Linked DNA regions of Homo sapiens: region 2 is linked to region 1. The links are contacts of gene promoters, found by promoter capture Hi-C in blood cells and fetal thymus (Javierre and others, 2016). All regions are on one chromosome and are shown on one strand. The core of a region is centred on a gene start or on the middle of the fragment in contact, and the rest is flanking DNA. Distances in the headings are between cores, read along the strand shown. Region 1 holds the start of SEMA4G (semaphorin 4G). Region 2 overlaps HIF1AN (hypoxia inducible factor 1 subunit alpha inhibitor).

Evidence for each region. The method cuts DNA at HindIII sites, captures the fragments that hold promoters and counts their contacts. A CHiCAGO score of 5 or more calls a contact.
Region 2: a fragment that was not itself captured here is called in contact with the fragment with the promoter of SEMA4G in region 1 in 1 of 17 cell types (fetal thymus); the score reaches 5.5 in fetal thymus.

What each region holds. Positions count from the first base shown.
Region 1 is chr10:100,967,419-100,972,343 of GRCh38, forward strand. It overlaps SEMA4G (semaphorin 4G), which reads left to right and starts at 2,086. Exons shown (of 15, transcript NM_017893.4): 1 at 2,086-2,173. RefSeq lists a silencer at 2,043-2,102. The HindIII fragment of the contact is 3,455 bases long and covers 486-3,940 here.
Region 2 is chr10:100,558,874-100,564,093 of GRCh38, forward strand. It overlaps HIF1AN (hypoxia inducible factor 1 subunit alpha inhibitor), which reads left to right. Exons shown (of 8, transcript NM_017902.3): 8 at 1-1,125. Among named protein-coding and RNA genes, the nearest start is that of HIF1AN, 26 kb to the left of the region's middle. RefSeq lists enhancers at 3,036-3,674, 3,433-3,512, 3,623-3,672, 3,675-4,312. The HindIII fragment of the contact is 1,639 bases long and covers 501-2,139 here.

The sequences.
Region 1 (4,925 bases), core at 836-3,335:
AGGAGCAAAGCTTGGTTCATAAAGTGAAGTTGAGTGATACTGAGCCTACCACACTGGCCTACTCGCCACCTCCAGAGCTATCTGAAGTCAGCACTGCAGGTTCTGTGAACATTTGGGAAGCTGTGCCTCTTAGCCCCCTGGGCCCCTACAGTTTAATTGCTCTCCTATCTGCTACTGAAGGACCAGCAGTCTTCCTACCCTGCCTCCACTGTTACCACCAACCCACTTTTTGATAAGGACTGCAGATTTATCTTTCTTAGCCCTGCCTTGACTGGTCTTCCCACCTCAGACGTCCTTACTCAGTCCATCATCTCTTTCAGGATTTTCTTCTGTGGTCTTTTTCAAACTACTAGCTGACTTTTCCCTTTTATTTCCCACTAGGAACCCCTCCCCGCCCCCCCCCCCCCCCCAGCCATTTCATCAAATCAAACTCACTGCCCTCTTTCATGCCCCTTCCTTAGTTCCCCAACACAAGCCTGTGCATAAGCTTGAACATTTCTACCTTTGCCAATGGTATTTCCCCTTCTGGCTTACCCTGCTTCCTCCTTCTCAGACTTTTCCAGTCTTGATTGTCCTCTCCATAAACACAAGAATGAACTTCAAGGCAAGTTACTTAATGTCTTAGAGCCTGTTTCCCCATCCATAAAATGGGGCTATAAATTCCTCAGGATGGGATGAGGGTACAAATAAAAAATGAAGCAGGATATTCTTTGTAAAAGTGTGTGTACATTTTTTATTGTGTTTCTCCCCAGCTACCTTCCCTCTCCCCGCCACACACATCCTATTTGCAGAGTGTTGGGGGAGGTGGAACTGTGATGTGGGCCCTGCTGTCTAGCAGTCTGCAGTCACACACAGCCATCCAAACTACGAGATTGTATATGATTCAGTGCCAAACTGTGAGCTTTGGGGAATCCAGAAAGAAGGATGAAGCCTTTCCCAAGTTTCCTTTAGTTAAATGTGCCACTTGAATCCTGTTCTGACTCCTAGGCACATGCAAGAGTCAATCACATATGTTCCTGTGGCCTTTATCATTTTGGTCCATCTCTTGAGCCCACATGAATACTGTCATGGATGGAGGAGGAAGGACCAGGCTGGGTCAGGGCCTGAATGCAGGTTTTGTTTGGACTATAGGGGCTAAGTTCACTTTAATAGGCTGTGACCTATTAAAGGAGGCAGGAACCAAGTTTGCACAGAAGGACCATCCTAGTTGAGTTAAAGGAGTTGGGGAGTTGATTGTGAGGGGTTTCCTAGATTGCTGCTGGGTAAGGTGATTGAATCTGGGAAGGATAGGGTACTTGATTGCCTAGAAGGGTGCACTCTAAGTTCTGGATAAGAATGGTGCCCAAGATGAGCTGGAGGGGAAGGCAAGTGTTTGAATGACCCAGTCCCTGAGGTGAGCCTAGGTTAGGGTTAAGATTTGGTGAGTGAACAGGTGCAAACGCTTGTGGCTTATTTATCCAGAAAAAGCATTTTCTGTGTGCCTTTCAGGTCAGGCTGTTACTTTATCCCCTTCAGGCCTGACCCCATCTCCCCCACGCATAGCTCAAGCTGAACAGCCCCTGAAGCTGGGAATCAAGCCCCTACCTTGTGTTCAGAGCTTCCCTAACGTCCAGTCGCCACCTAGGGTAGCCTTCCCTCCACACCCTAGGCCGAGAGCAGAAGCGGGTGGCAGGAGCACAGGGAGTGAGGTCCAGGTTAGAGGACAGGCCAGAAGGCCCTCCGAGAGGGTCCCCCAACCCCGCAACGCCAGGACAGGTTTGCACGTCCCCAGCAGTAGGCAAGTCAGGGGGGTCCTAGGGTTACAGCGGAGGAGAGGACGGGCTATAAGCATGTGGAGGGTGCACGGGGTGGCGAGGCCACCACCAGGGGGCGATTTCAGGGCCGCAGCGCCTAGAGGTGGGGGGTCGCCCGATGGCCGAAGGCTGTGTGTGAGCCTCGCCCTCAAACCGCCTCTATTGTGCTAGAGTAGGGGGCGCAAAGAAGAGAGTGGCGACCTTCCCCTCACCCCACCCAGTCGGCCCCGCCTTTCAGGACCCCGCCCCACCCCCGGCTCCGCCTCCACCACCCCCCCCCCGCCCCGCCTCCAGCCGCGGCCCCTTCCTCTCGCAGCTGGTGCTGTGGGGCCGCGGAGCCGCGCGTCGCTGTCTCTATGGCCCCGGATCCGAGCGCAAAGGTGAGCAAGGCGAGGAGTGCGGGCGGCGCCCTGGCGTGAGCCTGGGGCTGCGGGCCGGGGGTCGGGCAAGGCCTCCCCCACGTCCATTCTACCCTCCAAGCTGGGCCAGGCCTTTCTCACCACCAAGTCCCCCGGTCCTGCATGACGGCTCTAGAGGGGCGCGGGCCAGGCCTCGGGCTGCGCGGGGTGCAAACCGGCCACCACGGAGTCGGGGACCAGCGCGGGGAGGGGGCCGCGTGGCGAACAGTGTTCCCCAGGATCTGGGTCACGTCTCCCGGCGTCCGGCGGGATCGAAGGAGAGCTTGTCCTCGAGCTGCAGCAGTAGAGACTGAGGTTAGACCTGACGAAGGGAGAGGACCGCGGACTGTCCAGGATGTTGGAGGGAGGGGGTCCCGGGGGAGGGGCTCTCTCAAGCCAGGAGAGACCGCCATCCTACTAGGCAGAGGGAAATACCGCCTACACTAGGCAGGTGGACATCTGGGATGAAGGTCGAGAGCCTGCTGATCCTCCATTGATCCTGTTTGAAGGGTCTCTCCTCCCCAGTTCCCTCCACCCCAAGATCTAATAGAGGAAAGGTGATCAGAGTTCAGGGGGCTGGCCCTGGGGAAGAACCCGAACTGTGGAACTTGGGGTGGAGTGTGGGGCGTGGACTGGAGACCTTAAACCCGTACTTCGCCACTGAAGGGAGGGGTGATATGCTCCGCCCCGCCCACTTAGCCCCGCCCCCTCCCACAGGTTAAGTGGGGGCTGAGAGCTCCAGCCCGTCTCCCACCTTTAGAACCGCAATATACATAGGGGTGGAGGAGTACTAAATTATGCGTTCCATTCCATCTTTGCTGAAGCTAGGGGCCTCCTCCTGCCTGAGTTACTTTCCCATTCCCTCCCTTGTAGAGCGGCCTTGACTCATGCACCCATCCCATCTGCCCATCCAAGGTCAGAAGCCTCCCCCATCACCACACACACACACACACACAACCCCCTCACCACCCCCACACACAAACACACACTTGAAATTGGGCCTTAGAATTGGGACTTTCAGGAACAGAGGCAGGGTTCTGCTCTGCATCTCACCCCAGTGGACACTGGCAGCCTCCAAGCCTATGGCAAAAACTGGACCCCTGTATGCATGTGTGCTTGTCTCTGCATGGATGTAGTTGTGTGTTCAAGAACTGCGTGTGAGCACACATGTACTTGACCCTTCTGTGAACATGATTGCCTGGCCCACTATATCAATGGGTTTGTGTGCATGTCCCTACACATACATGTGTATGTATAGGACCCTCCTGTTGAATAGGTGCACAGTCCTTGACACAAACCCACATGTGTGGGTTTATCTCTCCTCAATGTCTGAGGCTGTGTGACCTGCTGAATGGATGGGCATGTAAATTCAACGTCACATGTGAATATGTATGATTACCTGTGGCTGTGGCCCTCTGTATGAGCATATGTGTGCACAAAACTCCCTGTGAGTATATGTGTGAATGACCCCTGTGAATCCACGTGTTCACAGTCCTCCTTGTGAACATGTGTGTGTGTGTGTGTGTGCACCCATGTGCATGTATATCACCTTCCTAATAGTCACCCATGTGACTCTTAAACTATAAGTGTGACATGCACCACACTGAGTGGCTCCTCTAACCTGGGGCATGTTCCTCCTAGCCATAGTGCTCCCCACACACATGCCTTTTGCACTGAGCAAATAGGAGGTCCCAAAGGTAAACAGGTGTGCCTCCACAGGGAGGGGTGGGGCATGGCCGGCTTGCCTGAAGCTTCCTGCTGTCCCAGATCCCAAACAGGGAGCCTATGCCCTTTCAGGGTCAGGGAATCCTCTTCTCTCCCTTTCATATTTGACTCTACCCCTCAGGGCTCTGCCCCTGCAGTGCTGACCTTTACCTCTTGAATAATTGCTCCTGTTATCCCTCTGGCCAGTTCCTGATTCCTCCCCTCTTTCCAAGGCCAGATAGTTAATATTTGACCTGGGAGAGGAGGCACCAGTGGCACCCTCTGGCCCTGCCTGTGGGTGGCTGATGAGATGGAATGTATTAGGTCTCTCCACACCTCACCCAGCCCAGGAACTCTTCAAGGAACCCCTTGGTGATTAGGAGGCCTGTTACAGGGGTTGGGAGAGGCCTGCCACCCACCCCCATCCCATCCCCAACTGGTTGGCTTGAGGGAGGGTCCAAGATGTGTCGGGAGGGGCCAAGGGCTCAGGGATCCCATCATTTACCTTCTTCACGTTGCTTATGTCTCAACTGGCCTTGCACACTACAGCCTTCTGCACAGACATTATACCTGTGCAACCAGGGGGATCCTAGGTACCCACCCCAATGCCTGTGAATGCCTACTTGCAGATAGGGACACGTGTGGATGCCTAGCCAGAGGGTGCAATACAGACTGGCGTGGGCAGAGATGTGCACCCCCTTGGAGAGGAATACCAAGAAGTTATAATTAAAGAGAAATTCCAGAGGGAGCTCTCAGGCCAGGGAAAAGAAAAAACAAAGGGAAAGCAGGACAAAATAAACAAAGGTCCATTAAACCTCTCTGGTTAGGCCCTCCTGCATAAGGCACCCCCGCAGGCAGCAGGGGCAGCTGCTGACCGAGTTGCATCTCATTGTTGGGAGAAGCAGGCATTCTCTCCAAGAACCCCAGCTCCTTTGACTTGAGGGCCTAGTGGAGCTTCTGACTTGGCCAGAAGAGGGTCATGACCTTGGGTTTCGGGTTGTGGGCATCTAGGGTCTTGTAAGGAAGGTAA
Region 2 (5,220 bases), core at 70-2,569, 410 kb before region 1:
TTAAAAACATCAAACCCCCACATCATTACTATTTGCTGTAAGGATCTATGCAGTTTGTATTTTAAGTCCTTGACATATGGAAGAGCATTTGTGAGAGTAACAGGTTTGCTTTGTAATGCCAACTAAAAAGTGTGTATTTATACTCGAATTTTAAGTTGAAATTTTGCTAAGTTTCTTTTTTTTTTTTTTGAGACGGAGTCTCACTCTGTTGCCCAGGCTGGAGTACAGTGGTACAATCATTGCTAAGTCTTTCTGTAGTTTTAGAACATTTAGAACAACTTAAGATTTCCTGTATTTATAAACTTAATTTATTGGAAATATAAGTACTTGATCAGGTTTTGTCTTGGTCAGATAAATTAAGTACTTAAGGAAATCAAATACATTAATCATATAAATGCCATTTAAGTGTTTAAAGGAGTTTAGTTAAATGTAAGTTGGATCAAACATTAAACTTTTTTGTTTTATAAGCAAAATAATAAGATTTGTTAGCAGAACTTAAAAGCTTAGAAAAGAGAGGATTTTGGATATGTAACTTTGAAGAGGTGAATAGTTTGCTCTTTTCTGAGACAGGGCATTGCTTTTCGACGCAGGCTGGAGTGCAGTGGGGCAAGCATGGCTCACTGCAGCCTCAACCTCCTGGACTCAAGTGATCCTCCTGCCTCAGCCTCCCATGTAGCTGGGATCACAGGCACATGCCACCACACCTGGCTAATTTTTTATTTTTTGTAGAGACAGGGGCCTCACTTCATTGCCCAGGCGGATCTCGAACACCTGGGCTCAAGCAGTCCTGCCTCAGCCTCCCAAAGTTCTGGGATTACAGGCATAAGCCACTGTGCCTGGCCTTGAATATATTTTTTAACCAAAGTAATTTATGAATATAAATTGTTTCTATATAACCCAAAGTCACTCTCATTGACATTAAGAAACTCAGAGAGTGGGTTCTAAATGTAATATTACCACACACCCAAGTCACTTAGCCTCTACAAGTACCACGTAACTAGCAGCCGTTAAAAGATGGCCACCGCTAGTCCAGTCGGCCACAGACATGGTTTTGTTTGGCCAATACAAGTTTTTGAAAGTTTTAAAAAATTGACAACATTAAAGATCAGAAACTTGACCTAAAAAGATTTCTCTCTTTGGAAAATCAGATCTGGCAGTAATGAAATCGCCTTTCCCATGTGACAGCAGTTGGCTGGAGCTGAAGAGCAACTGCCCCCTTGGCTGTGTTCCTTTCAGTTTGTCAATCTCCACTCTTCACTGTTGTACCCTAGATCTCACTCACGTGACCTGTCTGGCCCACATAGATATTTGAGGGTATGGCCCTGAACTTGAGGCACTCTGGAGTTGCTAACAACTGATGCTGGGCAGCCTAGAATAAGGGCTCAGGAAAAGTGTAGGCCCTACCTCTCTCTGTTCACATCATTCCCCCCTCCAGCCAGGCTGTCTTCCCAGCTGACCTGGCTCCAGGACTGATTCCAACCCCTATAGCAACTGTGTAAGAAGTCCCCAGGCTCAGGCTTCTCAGTGTTCACTGCTCTTGTCTGTGACCAGGCACTTTGCCTAGGCTCTGACCTCATGTCTCAGTCCTTTTGAACATTCTGGTCACCTGCCTAGTTTGACCGCAGCCTGACTTTGGTCTGTGAGGGGTCCTGGGCTCTCTGCTTTATGCAGCCACCATATCTGATCTTTGTGATGTGGTTGTGAATCTTCTGCTTCTATCTCCACCATCACTGTCCACTGCTTGGGCAATATGGTTGCTCAGCTGAGAGATTGGCAGCCCAGATTGCTAAAGGCTTAGGAGACATGAAAGGTGAGTTTGGAAGTGTTTGGATTTTCAAAAGAAGGACAGAGGCAGAAGCCAACCACAGTTTAAGGGGGCAGCTAGTAGAGAGCTTTTTAGGCAAGGGAGGCCACTGCACATTTATAGGCAGAGAAGGTGGCAGGACAGAGAATTTAAGAGAATGAGGTCTCAGAGGAGGCATAGGATGATGGGATATGAAATAGCAAAGGCACACCCAAGGTGATCCTGAAGCTCAGAAATATTAAGTCATGCAGGAGGGGGCACCATTGGAAATATAATCCCCTAAAGTTATGAGTAAACAAATGATGGTGGGGTGTGGAGGGTAGAAAGAAGGCCTAAGCTTGATGTGGGGGCCACAGCCTGGGCAAGAGAAATTTCCAGCAAAGCCTCTGACAAATTTCTGACAAAGCCTCTCATGTTATCTAGTTGTGGCAGAAGCATCTGAACCAAATGGCTAGGAAGCTTGGTGAACAGTCAGACCCAGTGAGGGTTGATTAATGGATCCATGTCAGCCTAGACTAGAGGGAAGTCTCCAGCAGTATGCCTTAGGGCTCAGTCTGGGCCTGTGTCCTCTCTGACATTTTTATTGACAACTGACCGAAGCAGCAGGCTCATCAAGTTTGCAGGTGATAGAGCTAGGAGGGGCAGTTAATACTTTGCATGAAAGAGTCAGGATTCAAAACGATTTCAACAGGCTGGAACACTGGGCTGGAACCAACAAGATTAAACTTAACAGGGATAAATGTAGAGTCCTGCACTTAGGTTAAAACAAAATCAATGACATAAGTACCGGTTGTAGGGGTTGGCCCAGCTTGACAGCAGTTCATGAAGAAAAGACCTGGGGGGTTTAGTTGACTGCAAGCTCAATATGAGTCAACTGTGTGATGTGACTGCTAAAATCCTAACACAGCCATGAATTGCATTAACCAAACGGAGCAGCCAGATCAAGGGAGGTGTTACCCCACTGCTTTCTGAGATGGTCAGGCCACCTCTGAGCACTGGGTCCAATTCTGAGGTCTTTTCCCCTGCTAAGGTCAGTGACAAATGAGAATATTTTTGATAGGAAGCCACCATGGCAGTGGGCCTGAATACTGTCCGAGACTTGCCAGTGATTCTATGGTGCTGAAATTTCTGGAATGAAGGACAGGAGTCTAGAATCTGAACCCAGGCAAAGACTTTTATCTGGAGCATATTTCTAGGATTTAGGGGAAAATTTGGGGTCTGCATTTCCTCACTTCCTATGGCTGCCCAGAGGCATTGGCCTGTGACTCTCATCCCTGGCCTTCCTGAGGTCAGGGGATTAGCGATTAGTTAGACGGGGTCTAGGGTAGAGGTCAGCCTGAGGGGGCGGCTATAAAACGAGTCATTGAGGTGGGAGGGAACCTGGAAATTGGGACCTCACGCACCATATTTCCCGCGCTCTCCCCTGGGACGTGCCGTCCCTGCTGCAGTCGCAGCGTGGCGCCCTCGCTCCACGCAGGGATCCTGAGCCAATGGCGGAAGCGGAGTGCGCGGCGAGGTCGCAGTTGCGTTTCTCGCACTCCCCACTGCGGGGAGCCCGTGGGCCCCGCACTGCAGGGAAGCTGCCGGCCCAGGTCTCCTGGGTGGCAAGAAGACGCCTGTGGTGTGGAAGAACCTCGCCCGCAGCCCAGCACGTGTAGAATCCAGATGTGGCTTCTGCTGGAGCCACGTGTTCCGGCCTGAGCGACGTCGCACGTGGCCTCCTGGCCGCAGAGCCCATGGCGCGGGGGGCCACTCTTCTGACGCAAGGGTCTGTGGGGCCGCGCAAGAGCCTGGGGCCCCCGACCTTCCGCCGACTGGCCGTGGGCTGGCCGCAGCCCAGCTCGGCTCTGTCTCGAGTTCCTTCGCTGTTCAAAGCAGAGTGGCGGCCACGTTCGGGGGCACTGGGGCGAGGGGTCGGGCGTCGGACGGGGCCCTGGGTCTGTACCGTTTCGGGCTCGCCGGAGGGGCTGCAGGCAGGGCGGGTTTCGGGTTCCACCGCCAGAATAATTCGGCAGTTCTGGATGGGGCCCAGGAATTTGTATTTGTGACCAGTTTCCCAGGTGAGTCTGAGGTCCGTGGTCCTCTGACCTCGTTTAGGGATGAGATCTAGTCCTCAGAGCCCGGGGCGGGGCTGCCGAGGACACCGGCTTGCTCTTCAGGCAGCTCTGGCCCGGGTGGCGGGAGGAGGCGGCCGGGGCTGGGATCCGGGCGCACCCTGGAAGCTCCAGATGGGCGTTGGAGACCTAGGGCGAGATGAACCGAGGACCGTCCATGTGTGTGGGTGCCGCTCAGGAGCGGGGAGGTGGGGGTGTGGGTGGACGGGCGTGTTGAGGGTGATGGATTGCTGCAGGGAGTGGACTCAGCCTACTGGGAGGAGTGGGAGAGGGGAAAGAACTGGAGGAACGGCGGAGTCCGTTGGCCTTTTCTTGGAGAGCTGGAGATGGAGGTTGGTTCTGTCCTGATGGGGGCAGGAGGACGGGTAATGGAGGCTGCCATGCTCAGTGAAGCCCCATGGGGGCAGCCATGCTTTGTGGTTTGTGGTGAGGCACTGAGCCCCAGGATACTGACTATTCCCTTTTTTGGAGAAAGAGGGGAAGAGGATGCTCCTTAAGAGCTTCTAGGGGAACGTTTCTGCCTCCAGGGGGTTTAGGTGAACTGTGTGTGTGTGTGTGTGTGTGTGTGTGTGTGTGTGTGTGTGTGTGTGTGTAGGTTAGCATATTGGAGATTTTCAAGGGAGTTCGTCTCCAGGACACTTCCCTCACCCCTACATCCACACACAGTATCTTATGATCCTCTTGGTTTCTCTTGGGCCTCAACTCCCCAAAAGGGGGGCACTCTTGTCAGCAGCTCACAAACATGTGGATATCTGCTAACTGAAGACACTCTGAAGACTTTCCCAGAGGAACGTTATAGAAGGAACCCTCAAATTCCAAATCCTTGAATATTGGAGCTGGAAGAGAACTTACAAACCATCTGATGCTGTCTTCCCCAGCTTGGTCTTGGAGAGTAGACACCTTAAGTGAAGGCCGAGCTTCGTAAGCCTCTGAGGATCCCAGTACCTGGTGTGGAGACAGGACTTGTGCATTGCCTAGAGAAGGGAGAGACACAGCAGAGTCAAGCGGTGGGTGGTGAGCTTTGATGGTGAACACCTGGGAGCTCAGAGGTGGGTAGGAGCCTATAAAAGAAGGCCCCTTGAAGGAGGGAAGCTAGAGCTGCATCTTTAAATGGGGAAAATTTATCTTTTGTGTTTTTCCCCCTGATTATGAATTTATGAAAATGAAGAAAAAATATATTGGGGCCGGGTGTGGTGGCTCACACCTGTAATCCCAGCACTTTGGGAAGCCAAGGCAGGCAGATCACTTGTGGCCAGGAGTTTGAGACCAGCCTGGCCAGCATGGTGAAACCCTGTCTCTACT